2 separate regions of the Homo sapiens genome follow, and region 1 is linked to region 2. Evidence: promoter capture Hi-C in 16 types of primary human blood cells and fetal thymus (Javierre and others, 2016). All regions are on one chromosome and are shown on one strand. The core of a region is centred on a gene start or on the middle of the fragment in contact, and the rest is flanking DNA. Distances in the headings are between cores, read along the strand shown. Region 1 holds the start of PATE4 (prostate and testis expressed 4). Region 2 holds the start of PATE2 (prostate and testis expressed 2).

The links. The method cuts DNA at HindIII sites, captures the fragments that hold promoters and counts their contacts. A CHiCAGO score of 5 or more calls a contact.
Region 1: the fragment with the promoter of PATE4 here is called in contact with the fragment with the promoter of PATE2 in region 2 in 7 of 17 cell types (monocytes, neutrophils, activated CD4 T cells and 4 more); the score reaches 7.2 in monocytes.

Annotation. Positions count from the first base shown.
Region 1 is chr11:125,829,503-125,835,580 of GRCh38, forward strand. PATE4 (prostate and testis expressed 4) reads left to right here and starts at 3,814. Exons shown (of 3, transcript NM_001144874.1): 1 at 3,814-3,915. The coding sequence starts at 3,858. The HindIII fragment of the contact is 876 bases long and covers 3,780-4,655 here.
Region 2 is chr11:125,776,412-125,782,232 of GRCh38, forward strand. PATE2 (prostate and testis expressed 2) reads right to left here and starts at 2,417. Exons shown (of 4, transcript NM_212555.3): 1 at 2,311-2,417; 2 at 2,141-2,164; 3 at 1,463-1,591; 4 at 1-1,107. The coding sequence starts at 2,362. The coding sequence ends at 971. The HindIII fragment of the contact is 7,529 bases long and covers 1-5,821 here.

The sequences.
Region 1 (6,078 bases), core at 2,564-5,063, 54 kb after region 2:
AATATTAGCACTTTGGGAGGCCGAGGTGGGTGGATCACCTGGGGTCAGGAGTTTGAGACAAGCCTGGCCAATGTGGCAAAACCCTGTCTGTATTAAAAATACAAAAATTAGCTGGGCATGGTGGCAGGCACCTATAATCTCAGCCACTCAGGAGGCTGAGGCAAGAAAATCTCCTGAACCCGGTGGGTGGAGGTTGCAGTGAGTCAAGATTGCACCACTTCACTCCAGCCTGGGCGAAAGAGCAAAACTCCATCTCAAAGAAAAAGAAAAAGAAAAAACAACCCTTGCCCAAGCCTTAAACTGGGGAAATTTTTTTCAGTATTGGAGTAAGCTGTATCAGTACACCTCATATTACATAAAACTCTCTGGAAACCTTTGAATTCTGAGATTCATATGTCATCCCATTTTATAAGTCATTGTCCTAATGACGAATAAACACTCTTTCACTTAGTATGTATAAGAAATTTCCAGGGAACCAGAAATCTGATAGTATTGCTGTATTAGGCCATTTTGCATTACTATAAAGAAATACTTGAGGCTAGTTAATTTATAAAGAAAAGAGGTTTTATTTTGGCTCATGGTTCTGCAGGCTGTAATGAAACATAGTGCCAGCATCCACTTCTGGAGAAGCCTCAGAAAGCTTACAATCATGGAAGAAGGCAAAGGGGGAGCCAGCACATCACAGGGCAAGAGAGGGAGCTGGAGAAAGGGAGGGGAGGTTCCAGGCTCTCTTAAACAACCGGGTCTCACATGAACTCATAGAGTAAGAATTCACTTATTTCCACAAGGTCAACATCAAGCCATTCATGAGGGATCCTCTCCCATGACCTAATGCCTCCTACCAGACCTAACCTCTAACATTGGGAATCACACTTCAACATGAGATTTGTAGGGGACAAATATCCAAACAATATCATTCTGTCCCTGGCCCCTCAAATCTCATGTCCTTCTCACATTGCAAAATACAATCATCTATTCCCAACAGTTTCCCAAAGTCTTAATTTTTCCAGCATCACTCAAAAATGTAAAGTCCAAAGTTTCATCTGATTCTCAAAGCAATTTCCTTCAATCTATGAGTTTATAAAATCAAACACAAGCTATTTACTTCCAAGATACAATGGTGGTACAGGCATTGAGTAAACATTCCCATTCCAAAAGGGAAAAACCAGCCAAAAGAAAAGGACAAGAGGCCCATCCAAGTCTGAAATCCAGCAAGGCAGTCATTAAATTTAAAAGTTCCAGAATAATTTCCTTTGGCTCCATGTCCCATATCCTGGGCATACTGATGTGAGAGGTGGGTTTGAGGCCTTGGGAAGATCTGCCCCTGTGGTTTTGCAAGGTGCAGCCTCTATGGCTATTCTCACAGATTGGAGTTGAGTAGCTGTGGCTTTTCCAGGCTCAAGGTGCAAGCTGCCAGTGGCTCTACCATTCTGGGGTCTGGAGGGTGGTGGCCCCTTTCCACAGCTCCACTAGGCTGCTCTCCAGTCGAGACTCTTGTGGGGGCTCCAATACCACATTTTCCCTTGGCACTGTCCTCGTAGATCCTCTCTGTGGGGGCTGTACCCTTGAAGCAGGCTTCTTCCTGAGCACCCAGACTTTTCCATACATCCTCTGTAATTGAGGTGGAAGCTGCCAAGCCTCCTTCACTCTTGCATTCTGCACACCTGCAGGCTTAGCACCATGTGGAAGCTGCCAAAGCTTATAGCTTGAACCTTTCAGAGCAATGGCCCAAGCTGTACCAGAGCCCCTTTGAGATGAAGCTGGAGCTGGAGTGGCCAGGATGTGAAAGCAGTGTCCCAAGGCTGCACAGGGCAGAAGGGCCCTGGGCCTGGCCCCTGAAAACATTCTTTCCTCCTAGGCCTCTGAGCTTGTGATAAGAGGGGCTGCCTTGAAGATTTCTGAAATGTCTTCATGGCCTTTTTCCCATTGTCTTGGATATTATTAGCCGAGAGCTGTTATCCAATAATATATTATTACATAATAATAGCTATTATTGGATAACAGCTCTTGGCTCCCTTTTAGTCATGCAAATATATCTAGCAAGTAGTTCCTCCATAGGCCACTGGAATTCCTCTCCTGAAAACATTCATTCCTTCTCTGCCACATAAGAATTTTCCAAATTTTTATGCTCTACTTATCATTTTTTTGTTTTGTTTTGTTTTGTTTTTTGACAGAGTCTCACTCTGTCACCAGGCTGGAGTGCAGTGGTGTGATCTCAGCTCACTGCAACCTCCAACTCCTGGGTTCAAGTGATTATCCTGCCTCAGCCTCCCGAGTAGCTGGGACTACAGGTGTGCACCACACCCAGCTAATTTTTGTATTTTTAGTAGAGATGGGGTTTCACTATGTTGGCCAGAATGGTCTCAATCTCTTGACCTCATGATCCGCCCTCCTTGGCCTCCCAAAGTGCTGGGATTACAGGCTTGAGCCACTGTGCCCAGCCTCTACTTATCTTTTAAATGTAAGTTCCAACTTTAAGTTATTTCTTTCCTCCCATACATAATTGTGGGCTGTTAGAAGCAGCCATATCACATCCTGAACACTGTACTGCTTAGAAATGTCTTCTGCCAGATACCCTAGGTCATCATTCTTAAGTTCAGTCTTCCACAAATTCCCAGGCCGTGGACACAATGCAGCCAAGCTCTTTGCTAAGGCATAGCAATGGTGACCTTTGCTCCAGTTCCAAAGAGCTTCCTCATTTTTATCTGAGAACTCCTCAGCCTGGCCTTTGCTATCCATATTTCTATCAGTATTTTGGTCACAACCACGTAACAAGTTTCTAAGAAATTCCAACATTCCCCCATTTTCCTGTCTTCTAAGCCCTCTAAATTCTTCCAACCTCTGCCCATTACCCAGTTCCCAAGCTTCTTCAACATTTTCAGGTATCTTTATAGCAACACCCCACTTCTCAGTATCGATTTTCTGTTAGTGCATTTTTGCATCGCTATAAAGATATACCAGAGACTAGGTAATTTGTAAAGAAGAGAGATTTAATTAGCTCACAGTTCTGCAGGCTGTACAGGAGGCATGGTGCTGGCATCTGCTCCTGGTGAGGGCCTCAGGGAGCTTGCAATCATGGTGGAAGGCAAAAAAGGAGTTGGTGTATTACATGGCAAGAATGAGAGCAAGAGAGAGAAGGGAACAACAGAGAGAAGGGAAGGGGAGGTTCCACACTCTTTTAAACAACCAGCTCTCGCTTGAACTACCAGAGCAAGAACTCACTCATTACAATGAGGATGGCACCAAGCAATTCATGAGGGATCTGCCCCCATGACTCAAACAGCTCCCACCATGCCCCACCTCCAACTTTATGGATTACATTTCAACATGAGATTTGGAGGGGACAATCAAACCGTAACAATCACACACACACACACACGCAGACACATAGAGAAAAAAGGGTGAGTAGCGACTGTAGTCCCAGCTACACTGGAGGTTGAAGCAGGAGGATCGTGTAAACCAAAAAGTTTGAGGCTGCAATGAGCCCCTGCACTCCAGCCTGGGCAACAGAGTGAGACCCTGTCTCTTAAAAAAAAAAAGTGAGGAGAAGACAGATATGGGGCAGGGAAGGCAGAGGGAGGATGGAGAGTCAGGGGTGGAAATCTAATTCAACTTTAGCCAGAAGCATTCCCTGACACTGCTCACCAGCCTGCACTTTCCACATTAGTACAGATTTATGGCTCCTTAAGAGAAGGGAGTGGGGAAAGGACGGTTCTGCCTCATGCCTTTATCAGGGACTCCTCCCTCCTTTCTATTTACTGGCTGTGATCGAACATCTAAGCTTTATAAAGCAAGCTAGTGGCTGCCCTTTCCAATACCTCACTCAGCACACCGTCTGTCACCCAAACAAGCATCCAATGAGGAAAATGAACACACTGCTCCTTGTGAGCTTATCTTTTCTCTACCTCAAAGAGGGTAAGTTTGAACAATGGGGGTGGAGGGAGGCAACTTAGGGGTGCTGTTCTCTAAACCTCTACTCTCCAAGTCTCACTCACATGCTCCAGCTGAGACCCAAAGACTCAGTACAATCTGAGTTTCAGGATGTCAGAGAGATCATATATAACACACTAATCCGGAAGAAAATGTACTACTGATTGCAGGGAAACAGGACAATTTTCCAACTTCATATTAATTGACTTTTCATCCATACTTATCTCATTTTGGACCCTTTCTTTCTTAATATACTTTTCTCCTTTATTATCTCCTACACTCTCCTAGTTTTCCTTTCCTCTGGCTACTTCTCAGTGTATTTTGTAGGATTCTTTATTCTACCTGATCATTAAACACTGGGATACCTTAAGGCTTTATACTATCCACTCAGACCCTCCTCTATATCAACTTACCCACTTCCATGGCTTCAATTACAATCTATATGCTGAAAATGCCCAGTTTTATATCCTAGCCAGATTTCTATTCTGAGCTTCAGTCTTTCATCAACAAACACCTCCTACACTTGGAAGTCACCCTTGAAATCTCCCTCTCCCTTAACACTCACTAAAAATTAGTGAATGATTCCTATGCTTTCTACCTATTAAATGTGCTTCAAATATGATTATATTTCTACCTTATATTTCTATTTTGCTACCTTTTGACACTTAGTAAGAAATAATAAACCATAAAAGAATTATAAGAAAATGTGACATAATTTGTTTGTAAGCTTAGAAATGAGAAAGACCTTTCTAACTATGACTCAAAATCCAGAGCTCTTAAAAGAAAAACTGACAAATTTGACACATGAATATCAAAATATTCCTCATGGCAAAAATTAAAAATGCAACTCACATCAAACAAATGGCTAATATCCCTGATATGTAATGCCTCCTTTAAAAAAATCAAAAAGGAAAAGGCCAACAACCTAATAGAAAAATGGGCAAAGTATGTAGATAGTTCACACAAAAGAAAATGAAAATGGCTATTAAACATATAAAAAGTGCTCAATCTCACTCATACTAAGAAAAATGCAAATTAAAAGAACACTGATACACCATTTTTGACCTATCAGATTGTCAACATCCAGGAGTTTGATAAAATATTTGAGTATTAAAGTTGTGGTGAGACAAGAATTTTCCAAGCATTGATAGCAACAGAATAGTTACATCTCCTCTGGTGGGCAATTCAGCAATACCTATCAAAATTACAAAAGTGTTTACTTTTTATCCAGCAATTCTGCTTGCATGAAATTATCTTATAGATATACTCCCACACAAATGAAATATGTTCAGCATTATTTATTGCAGCAGATAATATCAAAAAGTGCAAATAACTTAAATTCTCATAAGAGACTGGTTAATTAAAGCATGGTACAGCACTACAGTGGAATACTATACACTTAGTATACATTATTCAAAAAATCAAAGTGCAGAGTATGCATAGTATACTACCAATTATGAAAAGGGGGTAAAAAGATACATGTGCATATTTATATTTGCTTGAATATACTGAAAATCAATCTAAAAGATATAAAAGAAATGAATAAAACTGGTTTCCTTTATTTGGCAGATGAAAACTGGATAACTAGCTGGCAAGAGTGGGAGATCAACTTTACACAACATTCTTTTTCTATTACTTACTATTTAGTCACATCAATGTATTACCTATTTTTAAATAATGCATTTTTAGAATGTTGAAATTGGAAATACTCAGGTTAAAGATCAAAGAGACAATTATTCGAAGAGCATTATCAGTGTACTGCGCAGCCTGCTCCCAACTCCTCTGAAAGAGAGAAGCCTCATGAAAGTTGCTTCAGGGAGAAATTGATAGTGTCCTCTGGTGTTTGGAAGGCACAGTGAGCTTGAGGAACCCAAAGGTGCGAGGGAGCCGGAGGGTACAGCCCTGAAATGGTGGAACTGAAAGACAGCTGAGTTGCATTACATACAAGCAGGGAGGATGTGCATACATTCCCCTGGATCTGATCTGGGCCATGCCATATCAAGCAAGTCAGGCTTGAGCTGTTTAAAGTTCTATCCAAGAGCGCTGTCTGGAGGAAAAAGGTATTCTAGCAAGGTGTGGGCCACTACCTTCTTACAGCTGAGAGAAAATATAACCACCAGCTGCAGGAAATACACCACTCACGATACA
Region 2 (5,821 bases), core at 1,167-3,666:
TATCTGTTTCTGTGTCTTCCTTCTTCTCTTCCCACCACTGTTACCCATATATGCTACCTTTCTCACACTTTCTGCAAACTCATAACTTCCTCTTACACAGGGCACTCTGTTACTTGAACACTACCTCATGGTATCTATTTACATCCTATTATCTTCAACTACTACACCACCTGCCACATTATCAGCATTTTGTTTGCTCAGTCCCATGAGAAGAACCTGACTAGCCATCCTTAAAAAAACACTCTGTTCCCAATCCAATCACCTAGTTCAACCATGTGCCCAAGGCTGCCTGGCCAGCCAGGGCAATGATAATTCAAGCCAATTCCACCCACAGCAAGTTATTTCTCAGATCTTAGTTTTTACCAGTTGAAATGCCCCCTGAAGTTTTCTTTGATGCTCATCCCTATGTCTGTTCAGTTTTTTTTTTTCTGCCCTGAGGTTCCCCCAAGAGCTCTATCAGAGAAAGACTTGGCCCATGCTGCCAACACACTGGGAAGCTGGGGTTAGCCCTCTCCAGAACCCACGGGCAGAAAAGGACAGTGCCAGAAAGTGTCAGGGCTAATCCAAAGAGAATTCCAACGGAGAGGAGTGTGTGTGTAGATGAGGATAGAGGATAGTCACAGAATTCTCAGTACAAATTGGAGATTATTATGGCCCAAGTGTTCACATTTTCATACAGGAGATAATAAATGACCAAGTCTGAGCTTATTCATGGCAGTATCACGTAAGGAGAGCAAAACCCCTCCCACCTGTTAGCGACAGGGATGTGCAAAGAGTGAGTCTAGTGCTCCATCATCAATAGGCTCCGCTGTCCACACTGCGTCTCCTTATGCCTGCTTGTCTTTTCACTATGAGCTGGCTTTCTCACTCTCTACCAATGCATAGAAGAGGAGAGCAAAATTCAGGTTCAGGGAAGAGAAAAAGAGCGTAGTGGTTGAAAAAGAACCCAAAATCCAGGAGAGACGTAGAACTAAACTCCCTCAGGGAGGTTGCAGTAGTTACTATGATCACAACAGATGAGCTCTACCCTCTTCGTGAACCCCAGGAAGTTGATGTCCTCACAGCTGGTCATACACGACAGTTTTGAATAATGATACATGCTCTGCCCTGAGGAGGTAAAAGAGAGGAAATATGATCATAATGACCTCATTTCCTTTTACTGCGTTCCTAGGAGTAATCTGTTTTTGTGTCCTCACTAACCTTTCTCTAGGCCCAAATGAGTTCCAAAGCTGAGTCTGTTAATTGCTGACCCAGAGAGTAGATTTTATTCCCTGCCAGGTAAGGGACATCAGCCTCTTTTTCACTCAATATGGTCTTAGGGAAAAGTCTGTCTTTGCCATCCCCTCAAGACCACCCCATACTCACCCATCCCATTCACCTACTCACGCTGAGGGCAAAAGAACACTACTGTTTCTCAGGGATGGTGGTGGTGATTTTCCAGTCACTCTATACTCCACATTACCTTTCCTTGTAAGGATGTAAAAGTTCTCAACTGCACAGGACTGTTTATGCTTCAGGGAGCAGGATGTCATGACACCATAGCATAACCCAAGATGATATTTTTTACATTCATAACACATTATTTCAGTCGCTGCCAGATACAAAAAGAGGTGCTTAGAGGATGCAGTCTTGAGAATATTCTCTGGGGCTGGGGGCTTCACTACAGGACCTTATTCTTGCCTAGTGGTTCCTAACATTTTTTGGACCATGGACTCTTGGTAATCTTGAGAAAGATAGGGATAATCATGCTGCGGTCCTCCCCATGTACACATTAATAAATTTGTACACATTTTCTCCAATTAAAAAAATCTTGTGAAAGATAACCTGTACAAACATAAATCAAACACTGTATATGATTTCAGGAGGTCAGGGTTCCCATGAAATTTATCCATGGACCTCCAGTAATGAACCCCTTATCTAGCCTGATGATTTTGCCGAGTAATGGGTAAAAGAAAGTAAAGTGGATCTTAGCCTCCTTACTCTAAGAAATGGACAAAACAGGTCTGGCAGGAGGCGAAACCCCTAGGATTCTATAATAAGAATGGATTACAGGCCTCTCTGAAGATGAAGGAAAGGTTTGCTCCTAAACATGTCACAAATTGCCTGTTTACCAAGGACTTCAGAGAAGCCATGATTGTACCTTTTATAGGGTCATGAAGTTCACCTGTGAAAAGAAGAAAAACCTTCCATGTTACAGTCTCACATACATCTGCCACTGCCCCAAGAGCCAATTTTGAAAACTTTCTCTTCCCCCAGCATCTGTCCGTCTCTTAACCAACCACCAGCTTCCCCTCTGTCTCCAGGACTTACCCCAATATGGGCAGAGCAGAAAGACTGTGCCCAGGAGAAAGAGAACAAGCATCCTGGAGCTTCTGTCAGGTGCAGCTTCCTGTGGAAGGAGCAAGTTGTTCTCTTGTGATCTGTCCTTGGGCTAGTCATCTAAATTATATAATCATAAAATTTCAGGGACAGGCAGTATGGCAATGTTCCAAGCCAAACCACCATATCTGATTGCTGCACAGCATTCTAAAGAGGGTACTCACTTTGATTTTGTGCAAATCCTCTAATGAAAATGAAATGGTAATGTTCCTGATTCACCAGACCTGCTCCTACTTCAATATTGCAGAGTTTTAAAAAGTATTTTCAACTTTCATTTTAGATTCAGGGGGTACATGTGCAGGGTTGTTACAGGGGTATATGGCTTGATGCTGAGGTTTGGGGTACGAATGATCCCGTCACCCAGGTAGTGAACATAGCACCCAACAGTTATTCAGTCCTGCCCAGTCTCTCCTCACAATGTTGCAGGTTTTAATACATCTGGGAGGTGTTCTTTACATCTTCTTGTGTTTCATCCTCATTGAGCAATCTAACAGCAAGTCTTATCCATTCTACCTACTAACTTCTCACATGGGTTTATTATTCTCTGTCGCCACTGCCATTACCATAATCCAGTCTATTATGTCTTGCCTGGACCAAGCAATGGCCTTATTTCTGGCCTCCATGCTTCTCCTCTGCCCCTTCATAATCATTTCTTCATAAAGCAGTCAGAGAACAAGTCATAGATGCCACACCCCTGCTGAAAACACTCTGACGACTTTTTATTACCTTTGAAAGAAAATCCAGAGTTTTTATCATAGCCGGCAATGGCTTTGTCATTATGAGCAATGGCCTCCCCTCCAATCTCCTTTCTCTCCACATTTCCCTGGCTCACTCAGGTCTTTGCTCAAATGTCACTCCCTCAGACAGAGCAGCATTTTCTGCTTAATCTCTAGAAAATGACAGCCTTCATTTCCTACCTTTTTCCCTGTGGTATGTTTCATTGCAATTCTAATAAGCTGATCTTACATTGCTATTGGCTCACTTTTTTACTCCTCCACTAGAACAAAGCAAGGGGTTTCTTTGGTTTATCATGGCACACTTGGCATCTAGAGGCTGGGAACAAAGGAAATGCCCAACAAATATTTGTGGGAGGAATTAATAATGTTCTTCCCATATCCTGCCTTGCATCCCTCCAGTCCATTCTCCACAGAGCATCCAGCTTTATCAGACTGGTTTTTTGAACTATAATAAAGACAAGAAATGAGACTTTCTACATTCCAGCAAGGGTCCCAAGATAGTAGGTAGCAAGTGTTTCACATTTCAAAGTGAAATGCTATGCTACTTAGGCAGATTTACAAAGAAAATCAATGAAACCGTGTTTAATATCCTGGACTTGCTGCCCACCTGGAGGGTATAAATGAACAGTGAAGTGCCAGAAAATAAAATGGAAGGAGTTTCTATAGTCTAGTGTGAGGGTTACTTTTCTATATATGGCTCAAAAAACAGAACCATAAAAAAGATATGTTTATCTATATTTTTAAAAAATCTTCTACATAGATGGAAAACCAATCATTAATCCATAAGCAAAGACCAAATAACAAATAAACCATTAAAAATATTTGCAACTCATATCTCAGACTAAGGGCGAATCTCCCTATTATACAAAGATATTCCAGAAATTGATTTTTAAAAGATTAACAATTCAAAGGGGAGAGACGCAGTCAATAATAATGTCATAGTTCACAGAAAAAAGAAACAGAAATGCTTCTTAAACACATGAAATATGGTGAACCTTGCTCCTAATTTTAGGATATTAGTTTTACTTAACAGATTTGCAATAATCAGAATTTAGTAACACAACTGTGTTGGCAAGATGGAGTAAAATGAGCACTGTCATACATTGCTGATGGGGCTGTAACTTAATATATCAGTAAGGAATAAAATTAGACAATAGCTCGTCAATTTTATATCTTTCCTGCTTTCTCTTGTGGGCATTTAGTGCTATAAATTTCCCTCTACACACTGCTTTAAATGTGTCCCAGAGATTCTGGTATGTTGTGTCTTTGTTCTCATTCATTTCAAAGAACATCTTTATTTCTGCCTTCATTTCGTTATGTACCCAGTAGTCATTCAGGAGCAGCTTGTTCAGTTTCCTTGTAGTTGAGTGGTTTTGAGTGAGTTTCTTAATCCTGAGTTCTAGTTTGATTGCACTGTGGTCTGAGAGACAGTTTGATATAACTTCTGTTCTTTTACATTTGCTGAGGAGTGCTTTACTTCCAACTATGTGGTCAATTTTGGAATAAGCGTGATGTGGTGCTGAGAAGAATGTATATTCTGTTGATTTGGGGTGGAGAGTTCTGTAGATGTCTATTAGGTGTGCTTGGTGCAGAGCTGAGTTCAAGTCCTGGATATCCTTGTTAACCTTCTGTCTCATTGATCTGTCTAATGTTGACAGTGGGGTGTTAAAGTCTCCCATTATTATTGTGTGGGAGTCTAAGTCTCTTTGTAGGTCTCTAAGGACTTGCTTTATGAATCTGGGTGCTCCTGTATTGGGTGCTTAAATATTTAGGATAGTTATCTCTTCTTGTTGAATTGATCCCTTTACCATTATGTAATGGCCTTCTTTGTCTCTTGATCTTTGTTGGTTTAAAGTCTGTTTTATCAGAGACTAGAATTGCAACCCCTGCCTTTTTTTGTTTTCCTTTTGCTTGGTAGATCTTTCTCCATCCTTTTATTTTGAGCCTACATGTGTCTCTGCTCGTGAGATGGGTCTCCTGAATACAGCACACAGATGGGTCTTGACTCTTTATCCAATTTGCCAGTCTGTGTCTTTTAATTGGAGCATTTAGCCCATTTACATTTAAGGTTAATATTGTATGTGTACATCACAATTGAAAGAACTAGGGAAGCAAGAGCAAACACATTCAAAAGCTAGCAGAAGGCAAGAAATAACTAAGATCAGAGCAGAACTGAAGGAGATAGAGACATAAAAAACCCTTTAAAAAATCAATGAATCCAGGAGCTGGTTTTTTGAAAAGATCAACAAAATTCATAGACCACTAGCAAGACTAATAAAGAAGAAAAGAGGGAAGAATCAAATAGACGCAATAAAAAATGATAAAGGGGATATCACCACCAATCCCACAGAAATACAAACTACCATCAGAGAATACTATAAACACCTCTACACAAATAAACTAGAAAATCTAGAAGAAATGGATAAATTCTTGGACACATACACCCTCCCAAGACCAAATCAGGAAGAAGTTGAATCCCTGAATAGACCAATAACAGGCTCTGAAATTGAGGCAATAATTAATAGCCTACCAACCAAAAAAAGTCCGGAACCAGACGGATTCACAGCTGAATTCTACCAGAGGTACAAAGAGGAGCTAGTGCCATTCCTTCTGAAACTATTCCAATCAATAGAAAAAGAGGGAATACTCCCTAACTCATTTTATGAGGCCAGCATCATCCTGATACCAAAGCCTGGCAGAGACAC